Regions from separate parts of the Homo sapiens genome. Here all the other regions are linked to region 1. Evidence: promoter capture Hi-C in 16 types of primary human blood cells and fetal thymus (Javierre and others, 2016). All regions are on one chromosome and are shown on one strand. The core of a region is centred on a gene start or on the middle of the fragment in contact, and the rest is flanking DNA. Distances in the headings are between cores, read along the strand shown. Region 1 holds the start of CSNK1A1L (casein kinase 1 alpha 1 like). Region 2 overlaps LOC124903159 (a long non-coding RNA gene). Region 3 has its middle 15 kb from the start of LINC00547. Region 4 overlaps LOC124903159 (a long non-coding RNA gene). Region 5 holds the start of LINC00547 (long intergenic non-protein coding RNA 547). Region 6 overlaps POSTN (periostin).

The links. Contacts are between HindIII fragments. The CHiCAGO score rates a contact against its expected background, and 5 or more counts as called.
Region 2: a contact is called between a fragment that was not itself captured here and the fragment with the promoter of CSNK1A1L in region 1, in 1 of 17 cell types (endothelial precursors). The highest score is 5.0, in endothelial precursors.
Region 3: a contact is called between a fragment that was not itself captured here and the fragment with the promoter of CSNK1A1L in region 1, in 1 of 17 cell types (endothelial precursors). The highest score is 5.1, in endothelial precursors.
Region 4: a contact is called between a fragment that was not itself captured here and the fragment with the promoter of CSNK1A1L in region 1, in 1 of 17 cell types (endothelial precursors). The highest score is 6.5, in endothelial precursors.
Region 5: a contact is called between a fragment that was not itself captured here and the fragment with the promoter of CSNK1A1L in region 1, in 1 of 17 cell types (endothelial precursors). The highest score is 5.5, in endothelial precursors.
Region 6: a contact is called between a fragment that was not itself captured here and the fragment with the promoter of CSNK1A1L in region 1, in 1 of 17 cell types (endothelial precursors). The highest score is 8.4, in endothelial precursors.

Annotation. Positions count from the first base shown.
Region 1 is chr13:37,102,331-37,106,986 of GRCh38, reverse strand. It overlaps CSNK1A1L (casein kinase 1 alpha 1 like), which reads left to right and starts at 1,323. Exons shown (of 1, transcript NM_145203.6): 1 at 1,323-3,728. The coding sequence starts at 1,731. The coding sequence ends at 2,744. The HindIII fragment of the contact is 4,821 bases long and covers 1-4,447 here.
Region 2 is chr13:37,412,488-37,416,966 of GRCh38, reverse strand. The region is part of intron 2 of LOC124903159 (a long non-coding RNA gene); the gene reads right to left. Among named protein-coding and RNA genes, the nearest start is that of LINC01048, 70 kb to the left of the region's middle. The HindIII fragment of the contact is 1,761 bases long and covers 537-2,297 here.
Region 3 is chr13:37,517,475-37,522,178 of GRCh38, reverse strand. No RefSeq gene overlaps it. Among named protein-coding and RNA genes, the nearest start is that of LINC00547, 15 kb to the left of the region's middle. The HindIII fragment of the contact is 1,302 bases long and covers 1,116-2,417 here.
Region 4 is chr13:37,487,180-37,491,542 of GRCh38, reverse strand. It overlaps LOC124903159 (a long non-coding RNA gene), which reads right to left. Exons shown (of 4, transcript XR_007063761.1): 4 at 710-1,116. Among named protein-coding and RNA genes, the nearest start is that of LINC01048, 4.6 kb to the right of the region's middle. The HindIII fragment of the contact is 810 bases long and covers 2,064-2,873 here.
Region 5 is chr13:37,534,165-37,538,432 of GRCh38, reverse strand. It overlaps LINC00547 (long intergenic non-protein coding RNA 547), which reads right to left and starts at 3,493. Exons shown (of 5, transcript NR_040244.1): 1 at 3,469-3,493; 2 at 2,582-2,618. The HindIII fragment of the contact is 4,935 bases long and covers 1-4,172 here.
Region 6 is chr13:37,579,441-37,584,124 of GRCh38, reverse strand. It overlaps POSTN (periostin), which reads left to right. Exons shown (of 23, transcript NM_006475.3): 9 at 22-156; 10 at 1,611-1,759; 11 at 3,428-3,564; 12 at 4,134-4,264. Among named protein-coding and RNA genes, the nearest start is that of POSTN, 17 kb to the left of the region's middle. The HindIII fragment of the contact is 5,917 bases long and covers 1-4,328 here.

The DNA.
Region 1 (4,656 bases), core at 74-2,573:
CAATCATAATAATAAAATATGCCAGCAGTATACTGTATTACTATCCACCTGAGGTAGGAGTATGTATTTTCACCCCACTGTCTTTGGACCTGGCCATGTGATGTGTTTTGCCCAGTGGAATGTAACATTTGCCACTCCTTTTATTATGAGAACAGCATGCTCCTAAGGAGGCTGCTCTTTCAGCCTGCATTCTAGAACAAAGAGGACACAGGAAGCAGAGATGCAGCTGATCTACAGCTTACATAAAACCTGAATGATAAATAAACTTTGTCATTGTAAGCCACTGAGATTTGCGAGTTGTTCCTGCTGCAAAGCCAAGTAATATACTGCGCTACCCACCTCACATATTTGTCTGAAGTGGACTTTAAAAATGTTTTAAAGCACTTTATAATGTTCTATGCCCGTCTATGTCTCAAACCAGCTCCTTCTCTCGCCATAGATTGATGCAGGTCAGAAAAGTTAACAGCACTAACTTATGTGAGACAGTAAAGTGAGAATACCTGCTTTCAAAGCTGCACCTCTCTCTCCTGCCTTTCTGCCATTGGCCCCCAAATTCGTTGCTACTGCCCCGTTAGGATTATACTCAGTTCCTATCCCATCTCCTCATAAAACAAAATAATCGCACGGGTTTTGTTATTTGTGATGTGAACTTTCATAAAAATATTGAAATGGTACCGCTTTTTCTGCTAGTGCTGGCCCCAGTTCTTCTGAGAAAATGCTCAGAACTGCCGGCTTCTGTTTCTTCTCCATATTTTGGTTAAATTTTACTTGAATCCTTCATTTAGTCAGTTTTGCCAGAACGTCTCTGTGGAATCCTATTTAAATTCAAAGCACTCTATGAAAAAATTTCAAAAGGATCGCTTTAAAAAAAAAAAAAAAGACATTTCAATTTAACTAGCAGTAAGTAACTCTTGTTGACTAAACTCATTAAAGAAGCAACCACTGAGATCACACAGAAAAACCTCAAGAGGTGGCACCCCGACTCGCATTAACCCAGGGAGACATGATGGCTAAGGAAGTAGATGGGACAATGACTGGGCCCGAAAACAAGAAAATCTTTGTTATAAAAGCCTCCCATTTCTGCACGATTAAGTTGAAAGAAGGTGAGCTTCGAGTTAAGCCTAGGCAGTTTTGAATTCCAGCTCGCCCACAATCTCTTGCAACCTTAGGCCGCTTACCTGAGACTCAGCCTTTCTTACCCAACAAATCAGGGAAAATAATAGCTACCTTACAAGACTAGCAAGTTTGTCTTAAATGGAGTGAGATGAGTGGAACACCTAACAGAGGTCTCAGACAATAACAGCTTCTCCAAAAATTCTCGATTTGTGGTTGGCTGAGGTGGAGGAACAAAATGGCGGCGCCGGCGGCGTGACCGGGCCCTCTGGCCCACAGCCGTTGGTAGCGGTGGCAGCAGTACTGCTGCCCCAACTCGCTGTGCCCCCTTTCTCAGCCCACGACATCGCCACGACAGCGAGGCAGCGACCGCCACCGAGAAAGAGGTGGTGGCCCAGCCTGGAACCTTGAGAAACCCTCGCAAACTGTGGCCTGGCGGAAATCCTGGTGTGCTGCAGGGATCAGGCTGACTCCACGCCCTGTAACACCGGGAAACGCCTCGGTGGCCATTTCCAGCAGCCCTCATCCTCAGCCTTGCGGGCCGGTGGGCCCCGGAGGCCTCCATCCTCCCCTAGAGGGGTCAGGGCTGAGCCCAGCCTCCATCTTTGCCTCTCAGGATGACAAACAACAGCGGCTCCAAAGCCGAACTCGTTGTGGGAGGGAAATACAAACTGGTGCGGAAGATCGGGTCTGGCTCCTTTGGAGACGTTTATCTGGGCATCACCACCACCAACGGCGAGGACGTAGCAGTGAAGCTGGAATCTCAGAAGGTCAAGCACCCCCAGTTGCTGTATGAGAGCAAACTCTACACGATTCTTCAAGGTGGGGTTGGCATCCCCCACATGCACTGGTATGGTCAGGAAAAAGACAACAATGTGCTAGTCATGGACCTTCTGGGACCCAGCCTCGAAGACCTCTTTAATTTCTGTTCAAGAAGGTTCACCATGAAAACTGTACTTATGTTAGCCGACCAGATGATCAGCAGAATTGAATACGTGCATACAAAGAATTTTCTACACCGAGACATTAAACCAGATAACTTCCTGATGGGTACTGGGCGTCACTGTAATAAGTTGTTCCTTATTGATTTTGGTTTGGCCAAAAAGTACAGAGACAACAGGACCAGGCAACACATACCGTACAGAGAAGATAAACACCTCATTGGCACTGTCCGATATGCCAGCATCAATGCACATCTTGGTATTGAGCAGAGCCGCCGAGATGACATGGAATCCTTAGGCTACGTTTTCATGTATTTTAATAGAACCAGCCTGCCGTGGCAAGGACTAAGGGCTATGACAAAAAAACAAAAATATGAAAAGATTAGTGAGAAGAAGATGTCCACCCCTGTTGAAGTTTTATGTAAGGGGTTTCCTGCAGAATTCGCCATGTACTTGAACTACTGTCGTGGGCTGCGCTTTGAGGAAGTCCCAGATTACATGTATCTGAGGCAGCTATTCCGCATTCTTTTCAGGACCCTGAACCACCAATATGACTACACATTTGATTGGACGATGTTAAAGCAGAAAGCAGCACAGCAGGCAGCCTCTTCCAGTGGGCAGGGTCAGCAGGCCCAAACCCAGACAGGCAAGCAAACTGAAAAAAACAAGAATAATGTGAAAGATAACTAAGCGTGAATGAGGAACAGAAGAAGCAGAGCAGATGATTCGAGCAGCATTTGTTTCTCCCCACATCTAGAAATTGTAGTTCATATGTACACCAGCTAGTGGCTGTGAACAACCATTTAGTTGGTGTAAAAAACTTTATTTCAATATAAACTGACTCTGGGGAGCGTTGGTGATGCTGTATCCCAAAGTGTAGCCTCTGTAATTGTGAATATTAACTGAGGTAGTGAAACGTGGTGTCTGGTTTTCTATTGCATTTATTCAAGTAGAAAAGTTAACTAAATGGTTGACACACACGAATTGGTGGAGACATTGTCCATATGCCAATTTTTTGTTAAAACCTTTTATTTTGAACTAGACTGCTTTGAGATATCATTTCAGAAGGACAGTATTCAGCCACAGCTGCAAAGGTTGTAAATGCTTATGATTGAGCATTTTTAGGGTTTCTCCATCCCTGGGGTTTGCAAATTGTTCACATAAAGAGCATTCTTAAAATGGTTGGCTTCTTGTCTGTAAGCCAGCTGATCTAGTAGTAACCAAAAATTCCAGTTTTGAGAATAGGAAAGATTCCGCCTGCTTACCTGTGAAGACATAAGAAAATCTTAGTAACTACCAGATTATCTTTAGAATTCCACATTAACTATATCATGTTCTCGGTATTTTAAAAACAACAACAACCATATTTGTCACAGAAATTTAGTTAACATCTTACAACTGAACATGTATGTACATGGCTTAGATAAATGTAATCACCGTAAACACCCATATGATCTGGGATTTTGTTCATATTTTGAAATGGGAGCTTTTATGTTTTACAAGTTCACTAAAATCTGAAAACTGTTTCTATAAGGAAATAATACTTTTTTAAACAACAACCAAAAAATGCCTTGCTGATTCACTAGGAAATAAAAATCTCCCCAATTTTTTGATAGTCAACTTCGAGCCATTTGTTACATGATATTCCCTTGCAAGTAAATTTTATTTCATTATATAACTTTTTTCAATGTTTTTATTCTAAAATAATCGTTTTGTATGAAGGGGAAATGTATTCTTTCATTTTTCTTTTTCTAATGACTTGTGGTAAAATATCTAGTACTGCACCTGCCAAAACTTGGTATTGTTACTTCTTCCACTGACTAATAGCTGGGCTGATTTCAAATAAGAATGCAAGCATTGAAGGGTTTGACTACAAAACATTGTTGTTTAAAATACTTGTGAAATGGCTATAAGCAGTTGACTTTTACCCTTGGAGAGCACACTGTGAGGTTCTGTGATCATTGACCCTCCCTAACCCCCGTCTGCTTCTCTGAATTATCTGTGTGTGCGTGCTCTTCCTCTCAATCTTTTTGCACGTTCTTTTCTTTTTCTCTGATGCAAGATAAAGGAAAACTCATTTTCCTTTTAATTCTTTAAATCGTGTAATTTATTCACTTATAGCATGTCAGGATAAATTAAAAGAACATTTGTCTGAAAATGCTGCCAGGAGCCTATTGTGTAAATGTAGGCATTTTGTAAAATAACCTTGAAATTGTAAATTGCCACGTTTGGTCAGATTGTGTCAGGTTTCATTTATTTTTTTCTCTTTTTCATTTGAAAACTACTTCAGCAATAATTAATTCCATGATTACCACATTCTGCCATTAAGGGATATATTAGTACTATAATGCTGAAGAAATCTTAACAAATCCAAATGTTGGGGGTAGGAAGCTTCTTTGTTTCTTTCTATCCACCCTTGTTAGTTAAGGTATTCGTTTCTTAGCTATTAAGCCCTTTCCAGAAATCAGTCTCATAAAGCTATTTTTGAGTATAGTTTATGTAAAAGAAAAATATTTAGCTTTGGTAGTAACTTTTCCAACCTGACCTCCCTCTAGCAAGATATTTTTCAGTGTTTTTATTCAGTATGCACTTATTCTGAAAT
Region 2 (4,479 bases), core at 168-2,667, 310 kb before region 1:
TACACTGTTCTCTAAAGTTCTGGATGGAACAATTCTCTGCAGTCAAGTCCTAACACTTAACAAGCAAAAAGTTAATACTTGAAGCTGTTTCCCATTTATGTAGTTAAATAAATGGGCTTACTTGGTCCAGAAGGAAGCTAAACAGTATTCAAGGGTTATAAATGTGATTCTTGCCTCATTTAGTTTGAAAAACCACCTAATAAAAATTGAGAAAATAATAATCTCAGATTTATTTCCACATGCCAAGTTGAATACAGAAACTCATAGAAAACTACTTCTAGAAATAAGTATTACCAACGACGTAATTAAATAAAACATTATTTATTATTATTTAGGTTTAGAATGAAGCTCATAACTGGGCCCTTAACTCATACACAACTCAAGTCATTTGTTACACTGGGATTTCTTTTTTTTACAAGTGTCATTGTCAAAGATAACAAGGGGAATTAAGATCCAAATATGTTATTTTAAATAATTTGTTCTTTTTTTCTGTTGGCAAACATTAACATATGTTGAAAGATACTCTTGAGAAAGCTTCCAAAGGAATGTTTACACAGACATTAAAATCATAAAGGCTGTCATTATGGGCAATTTATTGAACTCTGTGACATGAAGATGTGTAAAAGACAGCATACCAGAGACATTTGATTCCACAGTTTTTTTTAAATCTAGCTTCAGGAAGAAAAAATGGAGTACATTTATTTTATTGAATATATGTCCTGGCTCTTCTTGTAAAATATTAAAAGAGTAATTCAGTTTTTACATGTTGGAAATCAGAAAGTATTATTACTCCCATCATACTTCAATATCCCTTTCCTACCCTTGTCCCATCCCCATTCTTCAGAGTAACAGAAACCACCAGCAAAAAGCCTTCCTGGAAAGGTGAGATGTTCCTTAATATATATTCAGTCTATGACCTCTTAGCAAGGTCTTTAATCATTGGTGGAACCTCCAGTAGCATGCTGCCATATTTTATGTTTCTCAAAGTGCCAGAGCACTTAAAAGGTAAGCAAAAGTAGAACTAGAATCCCTAAACTTTTTGTGTTCTATTTCATACAGATAAAATAATGCTTCTGGGCTGGGTATAGTGCTGTGAGCCTGTAGTCAACTCAGGAAGCTGAAGTGGGAGGATTACTTGAGCTCAAGAGTTTGAGTCTAGCCTGGGAAACATAGCAAGACCTCATCTCTAAAACAATTTTAAAACATAATAATGCTTTTATTGTTGCATGCTAAAAATTAAATGATCACCAAGCTCTACTGTTTCTTGGTATAACTAGTGTAGATAGTGACAGTAAAAGCAATTACAACATTCTGCCCTGCTCTAAAGCTATGAAGTTTGGGCAAGTTATATTAAATGCTCTGTACACTCTTATGTTTAACACTCTTCACATATGCCTCATGCAGCTCCAAGGATGTTTTTGAAATGAGTGATAGTGTCACTTTCATACCTAACATGACAGATTTCCCCAATCTCAGGTATCCTCAAACTAGTGAATATTTGTCTACTCATTATCACCCCATTGTCCTTTGTTGTTTTCCTACCTGACATCACAGAAGGCAGTGTGTAGAGGACTCAGAAAGGGTTATGTATGATTCAGCCCACCCTAGCTGTAGTCCTGGCTGTCATTAACTATCATAAGGACCTGCTGTTGTAGGTTGGGTTACCTGGGAAGTAAACTCTGAGACAGATATTTGTGTGCTAGGGGAGGTTTGCCACATTTAGCAAACAAAAATTCAGGATGCCTGGTTAAATTTGAATTTCAGATAAACAATAAATTTTTTTAGTATATTTTATGTCCCATGTCATATTTGGGACATGCTTCTACTAAAAATTATTTGTTTGAAATTCTAATTTAATTGTGTTTTACGTGGCACTCTACTTGGAAGTACTTTCAGGATCAACTACCATGGGAAGTGAAGAAACACTCCACAGAAAAGGAAGTTGCAATTACAGCAAAGGTCTCACTAGGCCCATTCTAGAGGGAGCTCTGGAGATACATGACCCTTCAGAATCATCCCCCATTTGGGAAGGGAGGAGCCAGGCCTTTGGACCCCTTCACAACAGTCATTGAATGCAGTTTGTCCCAGAAGGGGGCATGACCTCATCCAGGTGGCTCTTTTCAGCCAAGGAAACTCTCCGCCAGAATCAGCTGAGAGCAGTTGTCCTATTCAGGGGAAGGAGGGAACCTAACTGGCACATCGCAGCCTTCACTACAGTTACCCAGTCTCATCCACTCACTAAAAAAAAGAAAAAAAAAGAAAGTAGATTCGATGATGGAATGTCTGGACACGAAGCTTCAAAGGGAAGGATTCTGTGAAACTGGTTTTCCATTGTAGCAGTCATTCTTTAAAATGCTTTAGGCCAGGCATGGTGACTCATGCCTGTAATCCCAGCACTTTGGGAGGCTGAGGCGGGTGGATCACTTGAGGTCAGGAGTTCGAGACCATCCTGGCCAACATAGTGAAACCCCATCTCTACTAAAAATACAAAAAATTAACCGGGCTTGGTGGCAAGCACCTATAATTCCAGCTACTCGGGAGGCTGAGGCAGGAGAATCACTTGAACCTGGGAGGCAGAGGTTGCAGTAAGGCAGAGGTTGCAGTGAGCTAAGATTGTGCTATTGCACTCCAGCCTGGGCAACAAGAGCAAAACTCCGTCTCAATAATAATAATAATAATAATAATAAAATGCTTTGCATCATAGACCCCTTGAAACTTAGTCCCCTTCCCAGAATAATGTTTTCAAATTAAAAAATAAAATACATAAGATTAAAATGAGAAGCATTTATGATAAAGCTATCAATATTTTTAACAATTACATTTGTGATACAATAAAATACAGTCTCCTTTATTAATACATTAAATAAAGGGATCTAGCAGGTCTAATAAATACCATAATTTCAAAGCACTGATGAATATAAATCATTTTTCAAGCTAGCTTCAACAGCAGTGATATTAAATGAAATCTGTGTTTTATACCAGTAACCAGTCACAGATGCTAAATTATGGTTAGAGACAAATAAAAATAAAGATATTTTTTCCCATCCAAGATTCTAAACCTCAAGTTGATATAGAAACAATTTACCAAAGATAAAATCCTTGGTGGAAATGGGAAGCGAAAATAAAAAGAAAATCACAGTGGTCAAGAAATTCTAATGAGAATTTCCAATAAAAGAAGTATAAAGAACAGTTCGTAAGAATAACATTGATATCACAATGTAATCAGACAACTACTAAAAGATTGTTTGTATCCTGTGGTAGAAATAGAATCAGAGCATGGTTTTCCACGTCTGCCAGAGGTGTATTCTGGTCATCAGTTTCTTGATCTGTAAAACGGAGATAATCTAGCCTGCCTACCTAATTGTATGATTAGGATTAGAAAAGTGAAATTAATCACTAGTAACTTAAAAATATTATTGTACAACAAACATATGATAACATTTTCTGCCCTTTGCAAATATAAAGATGTCACTTTTCACCCTCAAAGTGATCACAACTTAAAGGAACTCAAATAGACATCAACAAACAATGGGGTGAATGTCCTATACCGGAGATAAGAACAGGGCAATGGATACTGCCTGGGCAAAACAGGGCTGACGCTACCGCACAAACAGGATGGTACTATTGTTTTAAAGAATAAAGATTTGCCAGTTAAAGAATGAGGAATTGAGCTGGAGAGTGAAGAGGAAGGATATTCCAGTCAGACATTAGAAATATTTGCCCCAGTAATTGTCTATCAATCCCATCTGGTTTGTTCTTTCTAGATTATATGATTACATTTTTTCTCCCTGAAGAAAAAATAAGAACTCAAAAGTAGTTTTTAACTGACATATAGATACAATCCAGTTAACTTTCTCAAGTGCAAAGACAATATTTATGATAGCCAAATTCTGAGTGAGAAATAAAACAATTAGAAACTAATAATAAGGTATTATTTTGGGACGGTATCTACATACTGTTCTTTAGGAAGAAAAACATACAATATGACTATATGTAAATACTTTAATGCAGTAAAGGTATTAGGAAGAAAACCCATTATAGCAGCTTTTATTGCGTAAATGTAAAATGTTGAAAATCACTTTAGTAAAACAAATAAAATTTCTATAGCAACAACTATTATGTATACTGACATAAAACCTTATGAATTCTGGTGGAAAAGTCTTTTTTTCTTTCCAACACATTTTTTCTTTCAAACACAAATCATCATTAGGCACATAGGAATTCATATGAACTAAAGTTATACATATTTTCCATATTATCTGGGATCTCCATGGGGTTTTAAATTCACCAGGTCAAATGCAAAGTTCAGATATGTTTAGTGCTGTTTTCTCAGAGGCAATGCATCTATAAATTTATCATCATATTTGTATCACTTAGTTGACATAACCATTTAAATTGCACAATTTTCTAATAATTATTCATATGCCTCATCATTGCTCATGAATGTTAATCATGTAATGTCTATTTCTAGGTAATGTA
Region 3 (4,704 bases), core at 517-3,016, 410 kb before region 1:
TTATCTTCTTGCTTTTTAAATCCTTTAATATATGATTAACTGCTTAAAAGTTAGAAACATTGTATTGTGTCATTTTTATAAAGAGGTAAAATACATGACGACAACAGCAAAAAGGAAGAGAGGGAGAAACAGGAGACTGCTGTTACAAGGTTCTTACCATATATGTGAAATGGTACATTCTTATGTGGAGATATACAGTGATAATTTAAAGATGCAAATTGTAAAGTCTGGAACATCAGTCAGGTCATAAAAGCAAGGCCTCAGTATTTGCTGTAATATAAATTTAAACTCTGCACACGTGTGTGCATGCATACACACACACACATAGACCTAGGTGAAAACACAGGGATATAATCAGCTCCAACATGTAAACATTAATAATAAGAGAGCTGTAGCAGCTATATTAATACCAAGCAAAAGCTTAAATATGCACTATAAAATTTATTTTAAAAAAATACTAAACAAAGAAGATACTAGAATAGAAAATATTACCAGGGATGAAAGGGAACATTTCATAATGATATAATAAAGATATCAAATCATCAAGATGTATCAAGCATAAATGAATGTTCACCCAACAACACAAATATAGACAACCGATTTTTGACAAAGTTGCAAAGTTAGTTCAATAGAAAAAGAAGTCTTTTCAACAAAGTTAGAACCATTACTAGAAGGAAACATAAGAGAAAAATTATGATGCATATACAACACCAAAAACATGATGCATAAAAGAAAAAAAATAACAGTAGGTTGGACTTTGTCAAAAGACATCAAATTACATGCTAAAATTAGTGCATTTTAATGCAGGCAGTGATATCTAAAGTTAATGTGTATGACAGTCTAGGTGCAAACAAGACAAATATGAAAGTCTACTAAATAATAGGAGAGGTCATAATGAAACTCCAAAACATTCATTAGCTACCTAAGTAAGAATAGGAAAGAATGAGAAAAAGCAATTTTGGCTACCATTATCAGGATGAGTTACATGAAAGATTTAGTCAGAAAGGAGAAGATATTCCCCATGAGAAAACAGCAAAACTAAAGGAGGAAACCCCTGCAGAAAGTTTGTGCAAAGAGACTTGAGTTCTAGTTTTTGTTCAGTAATGAGCAAAGCTTAATAGCTTTGCCACTTGATCTCACTTTCCTAAAAATAAAACAAAACAGAACACATAACATTCTAAAACTAGTCTCCAGGGCAAGGTTGACTTATACCTCTGCAAGAAATGACAATATCCCGGGTATAAAATGTTCTAACATGTCTGTTCAGTGTTCTTACACCCATGAAGCTGACATCAATGTCCTAAAATGGGAAACCATCTAAGACAAAGAATAACTTGATAAGGGTCATGGGAATCGTTCATATGTGACAGGATACTGTGACAGAATAAAGAATGCATTTTAGATTGTTCCATGGAGGTTCTATTCAAAAAATAAAAATGTTTTAAAGCCTCATTGAATCGTGAAATGAATTGGATATTGAAACCCGATTACCTGATTTCAATCCTGGATCCTATGTGTCTATTTCTTAGTTTCTCTAATTTTAATCACCTTCTATGGGCTGGGTCTTTTTTTGTTGTTGTTCTTAATATAATTAGACTCATAAACTAGGAGAGATGAATTAAATCGTAGAGAAAGTGGGAATTAGACAATTGTCATCATCTTTTCCAGTGCTAGGATAGCTAATAATTCATTCATTTCTCTTGATATTCAGTGTCGCCCTTTCATTGCTAATAATTTTTCCATATCCTTAGTAATTCAGACTAATACAACAACATCTTTGCAAGTTTTCTAACCTTACATTCTTCCACTTTAAGGCATCCTACATACTACTGATATAGTCATTTTTAAAGCAACAAAATTATGCCTGCTAGGTCCCACATAAAAAATTTTATCAGATTTTTATTTTTTGACAAACCAAAACCAGAAACTAAAAACTAGACTTTTAAAAAAATCAAAGACAAAATTGTTTAAACATAGCAACAGCATAGCAGGGAATCTAAAACATTCCCAAGGCAATCAGAGAGAAGCCTGTAGCTCCAGGATCAGGTGACAGCTTAGAAACTTTTCTGATTTAGAGTTATAATAGTCTTTTAATGTCTTGCTTTGAGGCATCAGATACAAATAACCCCCATATGCACACATACATACACACACACTGTGACATACATAGTATTAATAGATGGCATCTTTAAAAGTAAAGAGATATAAATACGATTTAAAATACAATAAATATAATCATGACAACAAATTGAATAAACATTTAAGATGGTAGGCAGGGCTGCATCCATGTCTGCTGAGGTCAATTCTAGGTCTGAAGGCAGGAGAAGCTGCCAGAAATTCATTTTCTATGGATAACAGTACTAAAATTGCAGTGAGAATCAGGCCCAGTGTTTAATACTAGGGACTGAAGTAAAGCTTCCTTCTTCATAAGAAGTTGCTAAACCAACTGGCCATATTATTTCTAGGCTATGGCATAAGTAAATCTACGTCTATAAACTAGAAGAAGCAGAAGTAACTTCACAACATACACCTGAGCCAACCTACCCACTGGTTCAGTGCCTAGGTCTACAATACTGTTATCACTTTCAGATGGGGCATGAAGCTGGCAATCAAAACGTAACTTCTAAGACCAACAGAGACATGAGAATGAGCTCAAAGAAAAAGGGAGAGGGAAGAACAAACTTTAAGACAACATAGTCCCGCACTCACCCGTATCTCAAAACATGTGATGAAAACTAATGCTAAGAAAGCCAACAAAATTAACAATGAGAAGACTCGCTCCTCTCAAATGGACAAGAAATGTCAATCAGAGTGTAGGGTCCTCAAATAGCTATTTTTTAAATTTAAGCAACAAATTATAAAATGAAAATAGGCAAAATAAAACAAGTGTGTATGTAAATAAAACAAATTAAAATATTTAAATAAAATAGTCATTAAATCTGGGAGAGAAAGGGAAAGGGAGAGCAATTGCTAATGGATACGAGGTTTTTTTGATGGATAATAAAAATATTCTAAAATTATATTATGATGATGCTTGCACAAGCCTGTAAATGAGCTAAAAATGATTAAATCATAAATATTTAAGTGAGCTTTATGAGTTGAAAATTATATCTCAATGAAGCTCTAAAAAAATCATTAAAACTTAAAAGTTTCAATAGAAAAGTCAAACTATAAATCCAACACAAAAGAATTATCATATTTCATCAATTCTAACTTGTACATATTCTTCAATATTTTAACATCCCTGAAATCAGGAAGCATCTCATAACCAATGATGACTATAATCACTATCACCTAGGCAGCTCTTATGGTGAAATTGTCACTGTCTCACATCTCACATGTGTGAACTTGCTTATATCTATGCCATTATTTATGTGATCCGTTAGTCCCACACATACTTGATATAATTGCGTCTAAAATATCTTCAAAATATTACACTTATTGTTATTTTGTTCTTAGAGTCACTGAAAAAACAGCAGGGAGTAAATTTGATATTAATAAAGCAAATAACATTGTAGGAAGAAAAGCCACAATTCAATATTTTCTTGCAAAGCAAAACAAAATCCTTTCAGAATTCTAAGTGAGGAAAATGCCCATATATAAGAATCTTCATTTCATTCTGATTGCAGGAAAAAACAAGATAAAATGCAAATCCCAGGAAGAGGCATATTTGCTGCAAAGTTAATAAAATTTAAGCTTTAAGACATCTCATTTGTGCAGACTTCTAAGACCCTGTCCTTACTACAAAGGATCACTCCATATTATGAAACTGTAAGCCCTACAAAACCAGAATCCATCCCTGTCCTCAGAATGGGTGAAAACAATTTTTCTTAGTTGGCTGGTGTGACAGATTTGTGTTGAGCAGGGCTGTTATAAATGTGGCAAAAATCAATATCTCAGAAATATACACTTAATCTCTCATATCATGTAGTTCAATTGGAGGAAAAGTACAATTATACATTTTATTAATTTCTTTTTTTTTGTGATGGAGTTTCACTCTTATTGCCTAGGCTAGAGTGCAATGGTGCGATCTCGGCTAACTGCAACATCCGCCTGCCGTGTTCAAGCGATTCTCCTGCCTCAGCCTCCCAAGTAGCTGGGATTACAGGCGCTAGCCATCACACCCAGCTAACTTTTGTATTTTTAGTAGACATGGGATTTCACCATATTAGTCAGGCTGGTCTCGAACTCCTGACCTCAGGTGATCTGCCTGCCTCGGCCTCCCAAAGTGCTGGGATTACAGGCATGAGGCACCATGCTTGTCCTAATTTTTAAAAAATTGATAAAATCCCATTTCCTTCAACATGGCTCAAAATTATACTGCCAAAGCTAAAGGTGCTAATGAGATCAGGTTCAATAAGCAGTGTATCACTGTGATTCCATTCGTAATTGATGGTCAAAAGTTGTTACTATACTTAATTTTAAAAAGAAAAACAGTTCCTAAGAATGAGAACTTCCCCCCAAAGATGTAATTGTATATGCCCCTTAAAGAGAAAAAAAAGAAAAAGAAAAAGAAAGAGAGCTGGGCGCAGTATTTCATGCCTGTAATCCCAGCACTTTGGGAGGCCGAGGTGGGCCAGGAGTTCAAGGTCAGCCTGGCCAATATGGTGAAACCCCGTCTCTACTAAAAATACAAAAATTAGCCAAGTGTGGTGGCGCATGCCTGTAGTCCCAGCTACTCAGGAGGCTGAGGCAGGAGAATCG
Region 4 (4,363 bases), core at 1,219-3,718, 380 kb before region 1:
CTTACTATGCCCATTTAAATACAAGTCACTCTCTTTCCCAAAGCCTCCTGTTTGAATATTTTAAAGTAATTATAAGATTGGAGTTAAAAGTCAATGTTTTGATTTCTCTTGATTTTGTTTTCAGCTTGTGATAGGTTTATTAATATGACTAACCTGAGTTGGTTAAATATTACCTGAATATTAAGATGAATGTACTATTTAATTATATAGTTCAAATGGGAGAGGAAGAAGATTAATTTTGCATTATTTCTTTCTAACTAACATGCATTAACCTTATATTAACACTAATACTATAACAAATACTAGCATAGCATCCTCCTTAGTCAAATTTGCCTATTTATTTACCTTCAAATATCTGTGCCTTTGCTTGTGTCTCTGTCTTGAATGACTTGAAACCTGATCGCTGTCTTTATCTTCCAAGGAAAATGCATGGGAACCGGCAATATGACCCCAGTCCACAGTACATTACCAACAACTCTCTTCTACAGACTGTGTACTAAACAAACATATGTTACACTCATTTTTTAAGAGATTCTTAGGTACTCTATTATCTGCGTAATTAATTGTACAGAGAATGTTTGGTCCACTGATGTTTTACTGATTATTTATAATAATTTATAATAAATATAAACATGTATACATTTATATTTTTATATAAATACTATATTTATAATTATATACATAATTTATAAACACAAAAAGCCAGAAACATGATTCAATATGTCTTTAATCACTGACCCACTTTTCTTAACGTGGGCATTATACTAAAGGTTACATGGGATTTCAAGGAGGATCTTCAGACAGCGTGGAAACTGGATAGAAGCAGTCGCTTGAATGATTCCAACATTCTTCAATAAGATACTATCAGATATTTTTGTAAAATAGAGCTGGCGCCTCCGTTTTTAGATCTTGATGTCTGTGTACAAGATGTCTAAACTTTTCCGGGAAAAAAAAAAAAAAAAACAAAAACAAAAAACTATACAACATCTGGAGAAAAACTTGGAAAAGCATGATACAAAACTAAAATTCCACCAGGGAATATGTGAAAAAAACACAAGAAGTTATCTACTTCAAAGTCTCTTCCTGTTTCTTACAGTTGGTGATCTTTGAAGCTGCCTGCAAATGAACACATCATGCACATAAGTCAATTTCTTCTTAAGGCAACCAGTTTCCATTAAACCTCAATTGAACAAGAATCCTTGCCAATTCATTGTTTGGCAATGAAGGGAATGATTGTGGTGAAAATCACAGGATATTAAAACAGAAGTTATTTTCAGCAAAATCTAGACTGGCACTTATTTTTAACCCTTATACCTAGAAAATAATATGAGATCAAAGTTTACAATGTATTAAGCAAAGCCTACATAAAAGTTATTGATGATTGATGTTTTACTGCTATAGGTGACCCCATAGAGATACATTTCTTAAAATTCTTAGAGTTTAGTTACAGGATAATAATATCAATGAGTTTGGAGAAATAGGCTTCAATTCCTGCTTTCTGAATTGTTATTCACAACTATCCTCAACTACAGAATTATGTACTGTGATGGAGGAAATTGTAACAAGATGGAAAAATAAAACAAAGTCCCTTTCAGAGAAAGCCTTGTGCATATTTAGAGGAAAGATTTCGAAGCTAAAATAAACCAATTATGATGAAAAGGACTTCCTGACTAACAAAAGGCTGTGAAGAAATTGCCCTGTATATGAAAAGATGGAGGATTTGAGGTTCTGAGGAAAAATAAGAATGACAAAATAAAGGATCCAGTAAGAAGGGATACAGAGTGACCAAAGGGAGGATAACGAAAACCAGCAGTTTTGTTATGATGGCAGTGAGAACTTGCAGAAAATAAAAATATTTAATGAGGACAAGGTTTTGTGGTACATGGTTTCACCCTCTCTCTTTCTCCTACAGAATCTTCATTTAAATCTGTATCATTTTTGGTTTAGTGCTTTGTTTGAGCAAATTTAAAGTGAAAAGACATGAAAATGTTCCTATCCAGCTATACAAAAAGGAAAAATCCACCCCAGTAAATGCAGAAGCCACGGGTTAATAGTAAAAAGCTTTAATCTGGGTCACAGTGAAATGAATCTGATCAATCATCATAACATTACCTTCCCTTTGATACATTAATTGATCCTCATGGTATAATTTTTCTATAACATATTTATGTTTCTATGTTATCAATATGCCTTTAGGCACACACATATACATGCAATCCACTTTAATTTTTTAACCTTTTTCCTTCTTGTACAATTCAGTAAGACTATAACTAAAACATGGAAGATAATAATATACCTCAAGCCAAGCATACATTTTGTATGAGAAATTGAAATAACTAAGGCAGCACGTTTTAGTCTCAATTATCTGAATTCTTTCTCAATTTTCATTTTATCCTGTAAAAGAAGAAGGGGAACAGACAGAAGACAGTTGTAGACTCTCTGGGGGTACTGATCTCACCTCTTCTTTATTTCCTGGGGAAATGCTGCTTTTGGAAGTGGCTTCCTTTTCAGCATTAATTTCTTATTTATAATGTGCCAATGAGTCTTGTATTACACTTAATATGGGAAAAAATACAAAATAAGCACTGTGCAGAATATTTGGCAAATGAAGCAAAGAAACCATTTTTTTTCTAGTGTCTCAGACAGGAACTGAATGAAAATCACATTCTTTATACTAATAGTCACCAGAGCTTCAAGATGAATAAAGATTTAGGAAAGTAAAAGATCCACAAATAAATAGACACTACATTCATGTAAGAAAACTATTAAGTAACTATCCTGGACTTCCAAATAGCATTCTGCCATAGAAATGTTTAACTTCCTTGATGCTATCACAAGTAAATAAATAAATAAAAATTTTAAAAACACAAGCTTTAAACATAGCTTTCTGAAAATATAAAATGAAAGGAAATAGCAAATTCATTTTCTGATAGACCCAACATAAAAACCAATGAGTATAAAATATGGAACATTTCTACCTATAAATGGAAGTTAATTTGAAATAAAGGTAAAATCAGTTAAAAAGAACAAAATTATTAAAAGTTATGGGAGACATACTTTATTATCAAAAAATGTGTCAAGCTTGAGAGTTTCAATTCATAACACTTGTATTTCAAGTCAATTATGTATTATAATATTTAAAAAGGCCAATGAGACCTTCAGGAGCAGTGAAAAATTACAATGTATGAAAGAAAGAAAATTATTATCCTATGTTATGTTGCTGAACATTGTGTTAATCTTCCCTCATATTAAGATAGCTGTGGGCAAATGGAGATGTAATGAAATGTTAGCAACTAAGATGGTGTGGGACACTACATCACATGAAGGGAAGTTGACAAAATAGGGTGCAGAACCTGGACAGAAGACTTAAGCAAAAGCTGAGGAAAAGAGAGGGTAGTTTTCTCCAAGTGTCAGAAACACTGTTACATGAAAGAGTTACACCTGTTCTTCTTGTCTCTATAAAGGGGATCTGGGATCCACATAAGAATGTTTCAAAAGTCCAAACTGTGTCATCATGGAATGGGTAGTCATGTTAGACCTCTTTTGCTTATAAGTAGTAAAACAAAAAGAGAAAAAAAGAGAAAGGTATTAACCACACAATTGAGAAACCCAAAGGTGGAGCTAGCTCTAGGAACAGAGGATTTAGAGGTTTCAATAGCTGCCATCATGCTGTCCATTTCTGTTTGGTTTTTGTCTTGTGTTTGGTTTCTTTCTCAGGCAGTCTCTTGATACACAAGAGCAAAGAGGGCCTCTGGAAGCACTGGGTTTACCAGAGTTTGCAATCAGAAAAGAAGAAAGTGGCCCTTTCTCCTTCATCTTCCACTTGACAGGTGTGATGGAGAACCATGACTGGTTCCCAAAGTGGTCACTTCTTGGACCAGTGACTGTAGATGGGGGATGGATGCTGTGAAAGGCCTACCCTAGGCTATGCGTCTGCCCCTAAGAGCCCGGCAACCATAACTGACATCAACAGAACCACTCTGAGTAGAAGAGAAGGCAATGAGGAGCTGTGAAGCAAAAACAAACAGGCAAAACTAAACTAAACTAAACTAAAATAAGAAAGGATATGTACCATGGCTGCTTTGGAAGGCAATGAATTTCTCATCACTGAAAATGTTTGAGCAGAGGTCTAATAACAATTTATAGATAGAAGGCCACAGCACCCCTTCTGAACTGTGGGACAAGTTCTCCCTCATTTACTTGTCCAGCACTTACAACACAGCAGGCCATATGAATAGCATGGTGCACAAAGTAGACAAGATCCCTGCTTTGCAGTAGCCTGTAATCTACGGTCTCTAGTCCATAAAAAGAGAATATGCTTGTCACACAATATGAGTGTGATTAAAAGAAAAGATGTATGTGG
Region 5 (4,268 bases), core at 456-2,955, 430 kb before region 1:
TTTTTCAGCTCTAAAATGTTTTAATGGAATATATAATTCAAAGGGGAATTATCTCTCCTAATTTAGAAAGTACTTGGAATTTATTTTTAGCAACAGTCACCCAAAACATAAGATTTAACTTCTTATCCAAAGACAAATTTCTGAAGAACTGCTACATCTATATTAAGTCACAAACTGAGGTGTATACAAGCTATTACCTGCTTAGTAGATTACTATTGTTTCTTGCTATACTCCAAATGTTCGTGTCCTTCTAAAATTCATGTATTGAAATCCAATCCCCAATGTGATAGTATTAAGTGGTGGGACATTTGGAAGGTGAGTAGATCATAGGGATAGGGCCCTTGTAAATAGGATTAGTGCCTCTGTAAACTCTTGAGATCTTTACAACCAATCAAATGGATATATCAAATAAGTTTTTGAACACAAGAATTTACAATTCAAATAAGAAAATTTAACTAGAATAGCTATAATCTGTTCATGTATAGCCACACTGATATTTTTTGGAATTATAAAATTAATTAGATTAGGCCGGGCACGGTGGCTCACGCCTGTAATCCCAGCACTTTTGGAGGCCAAGGCAGGCAGATGACGAGGTCAGGAGATAGAAACCATCCTGGCTAACATGGTGAAACCCCATCTCTACTAAAAAAAAAAAAAAATACAAAAAAATTAGCTGGGCGTGGTGGCAGGCACCTGTAGTCCCAGCTACTGGGGAGGCTAAGGAAGGAGAATCACTTGAACCCTGGAGGCAGAGCTTGCAGTGAACTGAGATCGTGCCACTGCACTCCAGTCTGGGCGACAGAGCAGGACTCCATCTCAAAAAAAAAATTAATTAGATTAGGAGACAAATTAGAGAGAAGAAAGAAGATATATGGATACCCTGAAGAACTTCAGTAGCTGGAGATTAGTAAGAAGAGGAACATCTAGGACAAGAGATTGAGACAGAGAAGCAAAAGAGATGGGTAAAAAACCAAGGTCATAGTTTCAAGGGAAGCAAATGTTTCCAGAACAGAGTGAGCCAATGATGGCCGAAGTACATCCACTGATTATTCCAATGTAGATGTCATTATGGGCCTTGGCAAGGGAAATATTGGGAGCAGAATCCAAGAGTGGATTAACAGATAAAGGAAAAGCAAGACAATCACAGCAGTGTAAATTTTGAGAAATTTGCCTTTGAAGGGAACAGAAAATGGGAAGTACTTGGAGAGGGCTAAGGAATCATGAGAGGTGCTTTCTTAAAGAAAAACATATGAATATTTTTATTGAAATAATTCATTAAAATATATAAATTATAAGTATTACATGAAGCAAGATACTTCATGTTATAAACTGTTCAGGAAAATTTTCTGGGTGGTAGAGTAAAAATATATCTAAAATATCTTATTAAAATCTTCCACACATCCAGATGAGGCAAATATGGACTCAATATTTTGTTTCCATAATCTTTTCTTCATTAACACTCTCATGATTTTTTTTTACCATAATTTCTCACCTGGATTACTGCATGCTATGGTTTGAATGTGCCTTCTCCAAAATTCAGGTGTTGCTAATGTGAAAGTATTAAGAAGTGGGGACCGTAAGAGTTGATTAGGCCTTGAGGGTTCCTTCCTCAGGAATGAGATTAAAGATCTTATAAAAGAAAGAGACTTTATACAATGTTCAGCTAGCTTGCTCTTCCACCTTCCATCATGCGAGGTCACAGCAACAAGGCACCTTGGAAGCAGAGAGCAGCTCTCACCAGACAACTGAATTTGTTGGCACCTTGATCTTGAACTCTGCAGACTCCAACATGGTGGGAAAATAGTTTTCTGCTCTTTATGAACTACTCACTTTCAGGTATTTTCTAAGACACTACATTAGTGTCTAATTGCCTCCAGCCTCTTGCTTCTTTGCTATCAATAATTTTTCAAAATCACAAATATGATGTCTCTTATTTAAAGTGTTCACTTTATCTTTTCGGGATAAAGGGTGAACTCCTTCCTCCAGCTCTTTATAATCAGCCTCAATCTCCTAAATATCTTCTCTCACTTCATTAATCATGCACCATTTTTCCAAACTACAATAATGTATTCAATATATCCTGACTCTTTCCTTCATACTTTTGCATATTCTTAGAATACACATTTGCTTAAAATGTTCTTTGCAACAATCTTCAAACTCAAACCACACTCCTAAATACATACACCCTCAAACATAAAATCCCCTTTTATAACTAGTTAACTTACAGTCATCTTTCAACCCTCAACTTAGATTTCACTTCTTCTGATAAGTTGTCTTAACCCACAAATTTGTTTTAGAGGCTGTCTTCATAAAGTTCATTTTACCATAATAGCACTTATCCCACTGTATCATGTCATTTATTTTTTTATCAGAATTGAAAGAAACTAGAAGTCTTTGAGGCAAGTGTAATAGTTCATGGACCTTGTAGCTCCAGAACATACTGCAATGGCTGGCAATTGTGCTGAACATGAGATATAGCAAAATACCTGGAAGAAACTTGGAAAGAGTGTTGGAGAGAGAAAGGAAAAGATTTACAATTTATAGAAGTTTCCCAAGTGAACTTCAATTCTAATATGCTCACCTGTTTGAGAACTACTGGTCTTGGTGAACATCTATTCCTGGGAAGCAAAAGGAAAAAAATACTTCATTATTTTGTTTATGAGCCTGAAATCATACCCAATTAAAATAATACTTTGTTTTTCTTAACATAGCGTCTGCTAAGAATTGCAGATGTCAAATTTTGGCACATTTGCAATAAACTTACTAAACAGAAATTTAAAATTCATTACTTGAATCAGATAGGAGATTGGAAGAAAATAAAAAGTAACATTAATGATAACCATATTTTCTTCAAAATAAATTCCATGGTTTTTAAAAACAAAAACAAAAAAAAACAAGAAAAAAAAACGTTATTCTATATGGTTTGGCTAATCCAGCTAGAATTGTGACTGCAAGTTTTGAAGTGGTATATTTTTACTGTTAAAGAAAAAAAAAGTCTACGGCCGGGCGCAGTGGCTCGCACCTGTAATTCCAGCACTTTGGGAGGCTGAGGCGGTCAGATCACGCGGTCGGGAGATCGAGACCATCCTGGCTAACGCGGTGAAACCCCATCTCTACTAAAATACAAAACAATTAGCCAGGCGTGGTGGTGGGCACCTGTAGTCCCAGGTACTCGGGAGGCTGAGGCAGGAGAATGGCGTGAACCCGGGAGGCGGAACTTGCAGTGAGCCGAGATCGCGCCACTGCACTCCAGCCTGGGAGACAGAGTGAGACTCCATCTCAAAAAAAAAAAAAAAAAAAAAAAAAGTCTACAGCCTTCAACCATTAAATAATACAGGAAAAAACTAGAGAAATTCTTTTGCACAATTTTATATATACATTTTCAAAACTGATTTGGCTTAAAAAAATCTGCATTCTATTCATGTCGGCTTAGTAAAGTGTTTTCCTTCTCCAGTCACCTATCTATACCTTCTTCTATTCTTTCCAAACTAACAGTAGGCAACAGAACCATCTGCCTGCTATAAATACATTCAGAAGTTATTCCTCAAACTCAGATTACCATTTAAGGGCAAGGGAAAACAAGGAGTATATTTAAACTTCTCATTCTGATTTGTTTATAGGTCATGAACTTACAGAACTTGATTACTTGATTGTCATTTTCAGAATTATTTGTCATAATGCTATGCTTACTAAATAGTTGGTTTTTGAGAGAACATACCATCTTTTTATAGAAAAACAGAATAAAACCACAGTAAAATATTTAGAATTTTTAACATCTTTTGAATAATATAATTCTAGAGCTACGATTTTTAAAATGAAGCAAATTGAATTTCATTTTCTCCTGCCTTTCCACTTTTGAAATGCATCAATGAATTCGTCTGTAATCCACATCTCAGCTTGAGGCCACCTCATTTATTTACCCAACTCTGTCCTTCTCTCAGTCCCCTTCCATATCTAAGCCTTCCTGAATCTCAGCCCATACTCACATCACATACTCGGATCTGAGCCTATTCCTAAGCCAAGCTCAGACATAATGAGAAATGAATTGAGGGATATCATGTTTGATACTCTTTAAAACAGATGTGTCATAATGAGTCAGATCCAAATCACAGAACTCTCAACTGCCGCCATGATGAGATTGCATTATTCCACAAATGACAACAAATGAAGCTTTCCCCCAAGAATGTAATTGAATATAAAAAAAAATAGTAACCATATGGAAAATAGTTTTCTCATTACTGGAAGGAAATTAAGGAAAATTGAAATTA
Region 6 (4,684 bases), core at 121-2,620, 480 kb before region 1:
TGGTGATGGTTTATTTTTCAGCCAAACAAGTTATTGAGCTGGCTGGAAAACAGCAAACCACCTTCACGGATCTTGTGGCCCAATTAGGCTTGGCATCTGCTCTGAGGCCAGATGGAGAATACACTTTGCTGGCACCTGTGAATAATGCATTTTCTGGTATGTGCTGGACACTGTTGTTCCTGCTCTCTGCCTACACACCTTTTTTTCTTTATGATGATTGTTTGCAATAAGAAACAATAAATGTTTTAGGAGGTGTTGATTAGTTTCTGCATTGGCTACACATACAATGTGTTAACACTACATGGTCTCTACTAAAATGTTCTTCATTTCTAAACATTTCATTATAATGGATAATAGCCTACAGAGAGTGAAATTTGTAATTTGTAATTAAGACTATTCAGGCCAGGCGTGGTGGCTCACACCTGTAATCCCAGCACTTCGGGAGGCCAAGACAGGCAGATCACTTGAGATCAGGAGTTTGAGACCAGCCTGGCCAGCATGGTGAGAACCCATCTCTACTAAAAATACAAAAATTAGCCAGGTGTGGTGGTGCACTCCTGTAATCCCAGCTACTCGGGAGGCTGAGGCAGGAGAATTGAACTGAACCCAGGAAGCAGATGGCACCACTGCACTCTAGCCTGGGCGACAGAGTGAGACTCCGTCTCAAAAAAAAAAAAAAAACGAAACTTAAAAAAAAGCATATTTAGTTTCTCTGTGAATCTAATATTTCCAGCACAATAAGGATGCATTGACAGATCTCTAAAAAAATAAAACTGATTTCTTTATTTGATACCAACATAATAATATTTAGAAATAAATAGGTGTGTTTTGCATCTCAAAATTTGGACAGTAAGGGTGTCAAATTATAAATAAATAAAATGAAGAGACTTATACACTTCCATATCATGATGTAAAATAGTATATATAAATATTTCACCTAGTAGTTGCTATTCACAGACCATGTTCAGATTCATGCAACCTTCGACCTTTCTCAGGAAAATGATTTCACAGACATATTTAAATTGTTAGGCAACATTTATTAATTAAAAATAGGTAACACAATTTTTTGTTTTTCCAAATGCTAAATTGTGATATAAAAACTATTAATCAAAAAAATTGAATTCCTAGATATCCTGACTTTCTTCTTTGTAATAATCCTGCCCATGTGTTTTGACAATAACCCATATTTAAGAGGTTGTTTGCTTTGATTCTCTTTCCAGTAATCAAGATTAATTTACAAAGGATTCATCAGTAGTTCTTTCATGTGACTAACAGATATCTAATTATCAGACAAAGCCTTGGCCACCATTAAGGTTTAGCATTTGCCAGTGACCACTATAAAACTATGTAGCCCTTACAGAGGTGAAACTCATTGATTGAACTGGTTGGAACTGTATTATTGTCATTTAATACAATAGGTCACAGAGTTTCTACTTGGTGAATTGAATTGTTAGTTTTTAGCATTTGGTTGATTCATGTATTATATGAGTGCAAAATCCATGATATCAATAATGTCAGGGATTATCTGTTTATATGATTCTGTCTTACCGGGAGAAACTTCAATGTTTTCTAAATAAAATAATGCTCTTTCTTAATGAATTTATTTACAGATGATACTCTCAGCATGGATCAGCGCCTCCTTAAATTAATTCTGCAGAATCACATATTGAAAGTAAAAGTTGGCCTTAATGAGCTTTACAACGGGCAAATACTGGAAACCATCGGAGGCAAACAGCTCAGAGTCTTCGTATATCGTACAGTAAGTGAATCACAACAAAATAAAAAGTCTGTCAAATGACATGTCAAATAATGCTGTTTCAATGAATATTTCACAGAATTTTATGAGTGTGGTTCTAATAGTAAATATTCATAGAAGCATCAGGGAACTGGGTAGCTTGGGTGAAAAGACTGTGAGCAAAGTCCACAACAAGTGCTATGTATTCAAAACTCAGATAGATATTTTGCATGTGTTTCATTATGAATAACTTTCTATTCTAGAGCATCAATTATTTTAAATTCCAGAAAGCAGTAAATTTTTTAAAATAAACTTTTCCTTTGCAGAGTACTTTACAATTTTCAAGGTAATTCTGTTCTCTGCCTACACACCATTTTTCTTTATGATGATTGTTTGCAATAAGAAATAATAAATGTTTTACAAGGTGTTGATTAGTTTCTGCATTGACTACACATACAATGTGTTAGCACTATGCTGTCTCTACTAAAATGTTTTTCATTTCAAAACATTTCATTATAATGAATCAAATATGCAAGGTGATCTTATACTGTAAAATAACCAGTCAGCATCTGAATATCTTTTGAATGGCTTTCAAGATAAACCTTTATTGGCACATAGAGATTTCTGGACTCTAAAAAAGGGTTTTAATGTACTTTTTTTTTTTAAGGGACAGAATTTCACTCTGTCACCCAGGCTGGAGTGCAGTGGCACAATCATAGCTCACTGTAACCTTAAACTCCTTGGCTCCAGGGGACCCTCCCACCTCGGTCTTCTGAGTAGCTAGGACTATAGGTGCACAACATCACCCTAGTTAATTTTTTAATTTAATTTTTCTTGAGACAGGGTCTTGCTACATTTCCCAGGCTGGTCTCAAACTTTCAGCCTCCAGTGAACCTCCTACTTTGGCCTCCCAATGTGCTGGGATTACAGGCATGAGCCGCTGCACCCAGCCCTAACATACATTTTGCTGCAGGAAAATTTATAGAAATATTGCTTATCAAAATTACAGTTCAACTAATGATACGTTCAGTATTTGTCCAGATAACACGTACAGCTACAACTAAAAGACTTCACAGGAAGTCAGGCATTACCTAGAACTGAATCTGGCACATGTCAGCAGCTCCCTGCAGCTACAAAATTCCAAACATTTTTAAGTATGCATTAAATGTGCTGCACTTTAAATTTTGTATATACAAATATATGTGTGTATATATATATCACGTTCGTTCAAAAAGCTATGAATATGTCAATGATTTGACTTACAATGATGAATAGGGTCTTACAGTCAAGAAAATAAAGTAAATATTTGTGAAGATCACTAAAAGCACTAAAGTGAGGAAACCTTACAGATAGTGTTGGCCAAAAGAGGGTCTAGAGAAATAGTTCAAATCTGAATAGAAATTATAAAAAATGTAGAAGTGGGATTCCATGGAACTTTTGTAATTTATTGACAAAATTACCTGCCTGATCCATAAGGTAGCTTGACTTTTAATAAAAAACCCGGCTAGATAAGAAGTGTCTTGTGAGTTTGTGTGAGCCATTGAAAACAGAGGAAAGAAGCTGTTCCCGTGGCCTCAGACACCAGGCAACCTCTCAGAAGGGCCGATCCGGAAACTTAATTATGTAGTTACATCTATACGGGAAATTTCAAGCAAGGAAAATGACACCCCATACCTTTCTTTCCTTTCCTAGGCTGTCTGCATTGAAAATTCATGCATGGAGAAAGGGAGTAAGCAAGGGAGAAACGGTGCGATTCACATATTCCGCGAGATCATCAAGCCAGCAGAGAAATCCCTCCATGAAAAGTTAAAACAAGATAAGCGCTTTAGGTAAGCCTATTAGTGGCACCTCCACAGAGAATGAGAGCTATTGGCATATTTTTGTTTCATAGGCGGTATCCCAAAAGGCATTCAGTCTCCTATGTGGTTGAAAATGGAATTTAGAATAAAATGTTCATACAAGTGTTTTCAAAATTGATATATGTTTTCGCTGCTACTTTCTGGTACACCGTTATATGATTTCATGTGTGAAAACAAATCTAACAGACTAAACTACTTCTTGACATTTTTCTTATAGTTTTTAGAAATTGATGGTATATATAGCAAAGACTATCTTGTAGAGTATTACATGATAAAAATGCTTCTTTTTTGTTATGTGTGACCTTGTCAAGTTTTATAGGATGAAATCAGATGAAAAAAATTAAAAATTGTATTGTATATTTCAGTCATTTTTCATGATAAAACTTTTAACAGGTAAATTGTATTCGAAACATATGAAAATGTATGAGCAGTTCTCTCATGCTTTCCACAATACATGGATTCTATTCTATTACATGCACTGTAGGTGAACATACCTAAATCTAAATCTGACAAAATACATATACATTCTTCCCACTTAGCACCTTCCTCAGCCTACTTGAAGCTGCAGACTTGAAAGAGCTCCTGACACAACCTGGAGACTGGACATTATTTGTGCCAACCAATGATGCTTTTAAGGGAATGACTAGTGAAGAAAAAGAAATTCTGATACGTAAGTGGAAGTGAATTCCAGATATTTTCCCTTTCATTTCAGGATCTCACTTCTTTCTCAAGCTTTCCTGTCCAGATGTCTGCCTTAAAAATGCCCCCTCTCTGGTATTCATGGTTAGCTTTAGTTTCCTTTTATTTCGTCCACTTGGGATGTGTGGAGGGTCACTCAGTAATGTTCTTAAACTGTGAACTGTTATGTTGTTGGGCTAGATGTTCACTTATGTGGTTTCTATTAAAGACCATGTAATCAGGGGACAAAGAAGAAAACAGTTATAATTTAGAAAATAAATAGATTTTTTTCTCCCAGTAAGTTGGGTTCTATTTTGATTAGGCTAATTGAAATAACTATGTTTTGAAATAGCATCGATATCTACTTGAGAGAATAATGATATTATGAGAAAGTACAATATGGAAAAAGATA